Regions from separate parts of the Homo sapiens genome. Here region 2 is linked to region 1. The links are contacts of gene promoters, found by promoter capture Hi-C in blood cells and fetal thymus (Javierre and others, 2016). All regions are on one chromosome and are shown on one strand. The core of a region is centred on a gene start or on the middle of the fragment in contact, and the rest is flanking DNA. Distances in the headings are between cores, read along the strand shown. Region 1 holds the start of MTERF1 (mitochondrial transcription termination factor 1). Region 2 holds the start of BET1 (Bet1 golgi vesicular membrane trafficking protein).

What was found. The method cuts DNA at HindIII sites, captures the fragments that hold promoters and counts their contacts. A CHiCAGO score of 5 or more calls a contact.
Region 2: a contact is called between the fragment with the promoter of BET1 here and the fragment with the promoter of MTERF1 in region 1, in 4 of 17 cell types (total CD8 T cells, naive CD8 T cells, non-activated CD4 T cells and 1 more). The highest score is 9.7, in total CD8 T cells.

The regions. Positions count from the first base shown.
Region 1 is chr7:91,879,221-91,882,092 of GRCh38, reverse strand. MTERF1 (mitochondrial transcription termination factor 1) reads left to right here and starts at 1,391. Exons shown (of 3, transcript NM_006980.5): 1 at 1,391-1,436; 2 at 1,980-2,038. The coding sequence starts at 2,010. LOC112267986 (a long non-coding RNA gene) reads right to left here and starts at 1,291. Exons shown (of 2, transcript XR_002956514.2): 1 at 1,229-1,291. The HindIII fragment of the contact is 3,297 bases long and covers 635-2,872 here.
Region 2 is chr7:94,003,001-94,005,872 of GRCh38, reverse strand. BET1 (Bet1 golgi vesicular membrane trafficking protein) reads left to right here and starts at 1,518. Exons shown (of 4, transcript NM_005868.6): 1 at 1,518-1,675. The coding sequence starts at 1,657. RefSeq lists enhancers at 952-1,581, 1,592-1,641, 1,096-1,701, 1,702-2,308. The HindIII fragment of the contact is 1,547 bases long and covers 841-2,387 here.

The sequences.
Region 1 (2,872 bases), core at 142-2,641:
CAGAGGTTGTAGTGAGCCGAGATCGCGCCATTGCACTCCAGCCTGGCAACAGAGTGAGACTCCGTCTAAAGGAAAAAAAAAAAAAAAAAAGAAAAAGGAGAAAGAAATGGGATAAAGAAAATTCTTTTTCTTTCTTGAGACAAGGTTCACTGTGTCACCCAGGCTAGAGTGTAGTGGCACAATCACGGCTCACTGCAGCCTCAACCTCCCAGGCTCAGGTGATTCTCCCACCTTAGCCTCCCAAGTAGCTGGGACTACAGGCACCTGTGACCACGCCTGGCTAATGTTTGTACTTTTTGTAGAGATGGGGTTTCACCATGTTGGCCAGGCTGGTCTCGAACTCCTGGCCTCAAGCCATCCTCCCGCCTTGGCCTCCCAAAGTGCTGGGATTACAGGCATGAGCCATCGCGCCCGGCCAGAAAATTACATCATTAGGCTTGTACATGGAGGAGTTAGTAATGCCTGAAATTTTTCCTCTTTGTAGAATTCAGGGTCAATCCTGTTGATCCTGTGTTTTTTTAAGGACCAAATCACCATCGTCTCCTGAGGATAACTCGACAGACACAATTAATTCATTAATGTAGATATTATCTTTCTTTTGATGGTCACAGGAGAAGTGCCTTGAATTGAAGCTTTATCTCTTCCATTGTCACCATCACTAGGCAGGTGAGGCTGACAGGACCGCGTGGCTTAAGGCAACGCCTCGGGAGGGAGCAAAAATGCATCCACTGTGGAGATGAGGTTTCGGTTGCCTCCATTCTTTAAATAGCGCAAACCCTCACAATGTCAAAAGAATCATATTTGAATTCGAACTGCAAGTAAGGAAATCGAAGTATACTAGAATTGATTTCCAGCCTGAAGGCGGATGCTGAATTCAGACCAGCAGTGACACTCCAGGATTTCCACGGTAGTTCATTAAAGGAGGAGAATCTGGGACTAAACAGACAGAGTCTACACCCGCTTATCCTGCACCAAAAAACGCCGAGATGTTCATCGGCATCGCGTTAGTCACATTAGCAGCAGCAATCGCATTATCAAAAACTGCAACACGCATGTAAATAATAGCTACTTTTCCACCACGTGTCGTCGGCCGGCAGTGGATGCCCCCTGTAGGATCCCTATAAGATGCCTTACAGTTCCCCACGGACATCTGCCCAGGCGACTGGGAGTCCCAGGCCCCACCCCACCCTCCAAACCCCTTCTTTGGCGTTCAATACCCCGCGCTCACCGCGGTCTCTTGCTGCCCCCTGCCAGGCCCCTAGCGTCGGGCTGCGAAGGGCTGAAGTACCGCCACGAGGGGGCGCAGGACCAACGACATCACCTCTGCGCGCGACCCGAGGCCGGAAGTTAGTCTTTTCCACTTCCGCTCCTCCTAGCCGCTCCGGACCCCAGAGGCGGAAGTAAAAGCGAACTACAGTGGATGGGTGCAGTTCAGGGTGAGATTGGGAAGGTGGTGAGGCTGTGCTTTCCTTTCTTTTTGTTAAGAAGTGGGTGTGGGTGACTGCTGTACAGTGCAGCCCTTTGCAGATTTGTCTTTGGAGGAGGAAGAGGGATGGAAAGAGCCTTCGGTGTGGAATTACCTTGGTTTTGAGTTAAGAAAGACCCACCTGGGTTCGAACCCTAATGCTTCAGCTAGCGAAGGCAGGCTAGTATGGGAGCTCGGCGCTGTTTCAGATTTTGTAATTTTAAGGCTTATGCCTACCTTTTAAATTGTTGTGGGGAGTAAAGCGAGACAATATATATGAAGCACTTAGCTTTGGTACAAAACGTATTCGTGATTCCGCTACCTTTTCCCATCATATGTAGGCATGTACTTGCCGTTTTCTTTTCTGTATGTCTGAGAAATGTTGTTTGCAAGAGGTAATGCATCTCACGAGAACATAATGCAACGAGAACGTTAGCTGGGATCGATCTCTTATTTTGTATTAGGAAGGCCTGAAATATTTTGCCTTTTTTTTGTGTGTGTGTGTCATTTCCAGAGATAGCTGTTCTCCAGCCTTTCTGGAGGGATGCAGAGCCTTTCCTTAGGACAAACAAGGTGAGAAATGCATGTAAAGATCTCCAAACTTAGCTTGCTGTATCAAAAGAAGACCAGCTGGAATGTGGTATTTTAGGGCCAGTGATTAGTTATTTCCATTAACAGCCTTTTTAACAGGCCAGTTGTGGGGCAGAGGCGAACGTAAATCTTTTTTTAGACCCCTCATACTACAAGCATAGAAATTTTCAGTGTTTGTTAAGTTTGAACATTAGCCCTTTGGATAATGGTTTTGGTTAATTAAAAAGTCAATTTGAGAAATAGATCGAAGTCAATTTTTGAATAGGTACCATTTTTGAAATTTGTACGTGAGGAAAGTTGCTAACTTTCTTGTATTAGGCTATTTAGATGTTCATTTACCCTACTAGATATTATGAGTATTTTGAATGGAGATCCGTTGCTAAGAGTAAAGCATCATGGAGAATTTTGAAGTGTGACTTTTTTGGTACTAGAAACCGAAAAATAGATAAAGATAATTTGTATTTTCCATTGTTTTTCACACCAAAGGCCAGTTTTACTTGTTTAAATTTTTTCATCTGACTGCAAAGTAACACATATTCATTAAATAAAGTCCCAGTATTTCAGAAGTAGTACATAGCCTCTAATAATCTTTCAGAAATAAGTGTCATTCCACTTTCCCCCTCTGTATATATTAACGTCCCCCTCCCCGCCTTTAATATACATGGCATTATCCATACTGTTAAGCAGTTTGTCATGTAGAATATCTGACATCTTTTGATTGCAGTAGATCGGCCTTTATTTTTGGCACCTTTATAGTATATTGCATAGATGTACCACAATTTATTAATTATTCTATTGGTGGCCATTTGGGTTTCT
Region 2 (2,872 bases), core at 269-2,768, 2.1 Mb before region 1:
CTTACTTCAGTTATATTCTTAGTACATTATATATGTTTTCCTTTTAACTACATTTCATTCTTATGTCTTCCTACCATGTAAAGGAAGCAGTATATTTTATGTAATCTAAATGATTAGTTCTAGTAAATATTACCATATTTTCAAAAATAACGATTTCTACATTTCCATCAGCAAGCCTTCTGTAAGGCAATTTTTAAACGTTTTAATTATAGAACATGCATTTTTTTAACCAAAGGACTGTCACAGATTTTAAGTTATAAAGGGATACCTAGCTATCATTTCTTTTATTGAATCTCCATCTTTTATTTGTAATAATTGTCCCTGATATTATGCTTATTTAATTTCATTGCTTTTAGAAAATGGCGGTTTTATTTTAATGATTTTTTTCTATCAAAACACTATTGGATAAAGCCTCCTTCCCAGGTTAATAACTCTTATTAAAAATTGTTTTCATGTGTTTTTTACAAAAGCAACTTAACGCAGAGACTTATGCCAGTATTATAGTCAATGTTAATAATGTCCTGGGAAACTATGAGGAAACGCTAAATGATCAAAGATCACATATTCGGAAATCTCTAGTGTGGAGACGATTCCACTGCCATATATACAGCAGCAACAACAAAACCGCAGACACCCAGTGAATTTTGATCACCTACTGTGTATCAGGTTTTTTTGTTTTCCCTTCAAAAACCACGATTTCATCGTATTCTCACGATAAATCCTCTGAGATAAAATGAAATTCTAGGATTAACCTCGATACCAGTAACACCTCCAACTCGCCAACAAGTTTTAAACCCCTAATTGGCACACTGCCTTGTGTAAGCAGTATTTCAATAAGCTTTGTGTAAGTTAAAAAAAAAAAAGTGGGAGAGCGTTTAGGGGTCCTTTGGTCCCCATAACAACTAAAAGTCTTGGTTCTTTCTAGAAGTACAACAGATGCAGTAACAGGGAACTAACTATTCAGTGCCTCTGACCAGATCCCGCAGCCTTTCCTAGTCTGCTCTCATCTGAGCAGGAGTCCTACTCAAAGGAACCTGGTTTTCTTTCCTTTACTGGATACTACAAGGCACAAATCGGTTACTTCTGTGGGTGTCGGATTACTTGTTTGTAAACTGAGAAACCTGGACAAAGTTTTCTCTAACTTTCCCTGAATCGTCTCTGGAGGTGAGAGGGAGTTCGAGGCTAAATCAGGAAAGATACCCCAACCATCCTCTTGTGGGTGGGGAGGAGCAGATCTGCTGGGTTAAACTTGGTGGTCAACAAACTGAAAGCAGCGACCCGCGGGCTGCGAGCGGAACAGCGGGAACGTTGGATCAGAGACCCAGAATCAGAGCCGCAGTCGAAGCCGCCCCCTTTTCCGGACGCCCCGTCCGCTCCTGGAACCGGGTTCACATCACGCCCTCAGCAACACGTTATGCGTTGGTGAACTACATTTCCCAGAATGCCTTTCAACCTTCTTCCCAGGGCTCCAATGAGCGCCGTGGTGACGCCATCATCCGGCGCGGTGTTTAGACTCCACTGATGTCGTGGCGCTTTAGGGGAAGAAGTTGGTGTTTCGCTGGGCCCTGGTACTGAAGACGCGGTCCGGGTCGCCCCTAGCTGTTTCCTACTCACCCAAAGCCCCGCACCCGCCTTTTCTCTCTCTCCTCTGGCAGGATGAGGCGTGCAGGCCTGGGTAAGAAGAGGGCTGAGGTTCGAAGTTCGGGGCCCTAGAACCGGGAGCGCTGGGGCGCGGGAGGAAATCGAACCTGTCTTATGTTCCTGGCATTTGGTCCAAAAAACAGGATGTCTAGAGGGGATCTTTGGGGTCCATGTCGAGTGGAAACACACCATTTGTCCCAGATCTTTGGAATTTCCTTAAGTTTGAGTCAGATTCAAGTTTGGATGGTAGGCTAGAGAAAGTAGTGGACTAGGGGTGGGTGTGTACAGGTGGCATCTCAGTGGTCGAGTGTTTTAGTGTTATTGACTGAGCGTGGTTATGGACGCTGCTATGTTTTCCAAAGCCCGACTCCGGTTTCTGTTTCCCTACTGGCCCTGGATCTTAGTTTCTTCAGAAGCGGAATTTGAAGAGTGGGTGGTTGCACCCAAAGCACGCTAGTAATGGTCGTTAATCTGGTAACAGTGAGTTACAAAGGTAAATGTATGTGTCATTATTGTTAAAGGTCCTGGAACTGGAACTTCTGGGTCAAAGGCGATTTCTTAATCTGAACCTTGTGCCACGGTTAAGGCAGTAGAACGTGGTTAAGGTTTGGCGACTTAACATTTGATCTTTACCTTTGGGGTTAGGAAACTGGCTCATCAGCAAGAATAAGTTAGACACAAGGAATTTTAATGGACCCTTATAGTAACGCACAGCTACTAGAACGGCATTTTCTGGTTCTGAAGCTTTCTCTTAGGACACGATTTTTTTTTTAAAGAAGACCCCGCTAAATTAGAGTGCAGTATACTTCAGAAAATAAATGAAACATTTGAAAAAAGATATTACCTTTCTCAGTCATTATAAGATTGAAAAAAGAAAAAAAAAATCCCCAAAGTGTCAGATATTTAAAGTCAGTGAAAGTTGCCAATAACCGTAGACTTGTTTATTGATCAATAAATTGTAGTATGAGAAAGTTTTTTGTTTTTTTAATGAAGTTTTTATGAATACTTAGATCATAGAAAATGGGGCCAGGTAAATTGAAGAGAAAAAAAAAAGAAATAATTTTGAGCAAGTTTAGCTTTATATGTCTAAATGTTTTTCTTGTTCATCATCCTTAATACCAAAAAAGATTTATTGTGTGCTTGAGTAAGCTCTAGGTATACAGTTGTTTGTTGCCCTGTTTGTGATCCCCAAAGCTTCCAGTCTAGGTGGGGAGTAGGAATATGTGCAAAG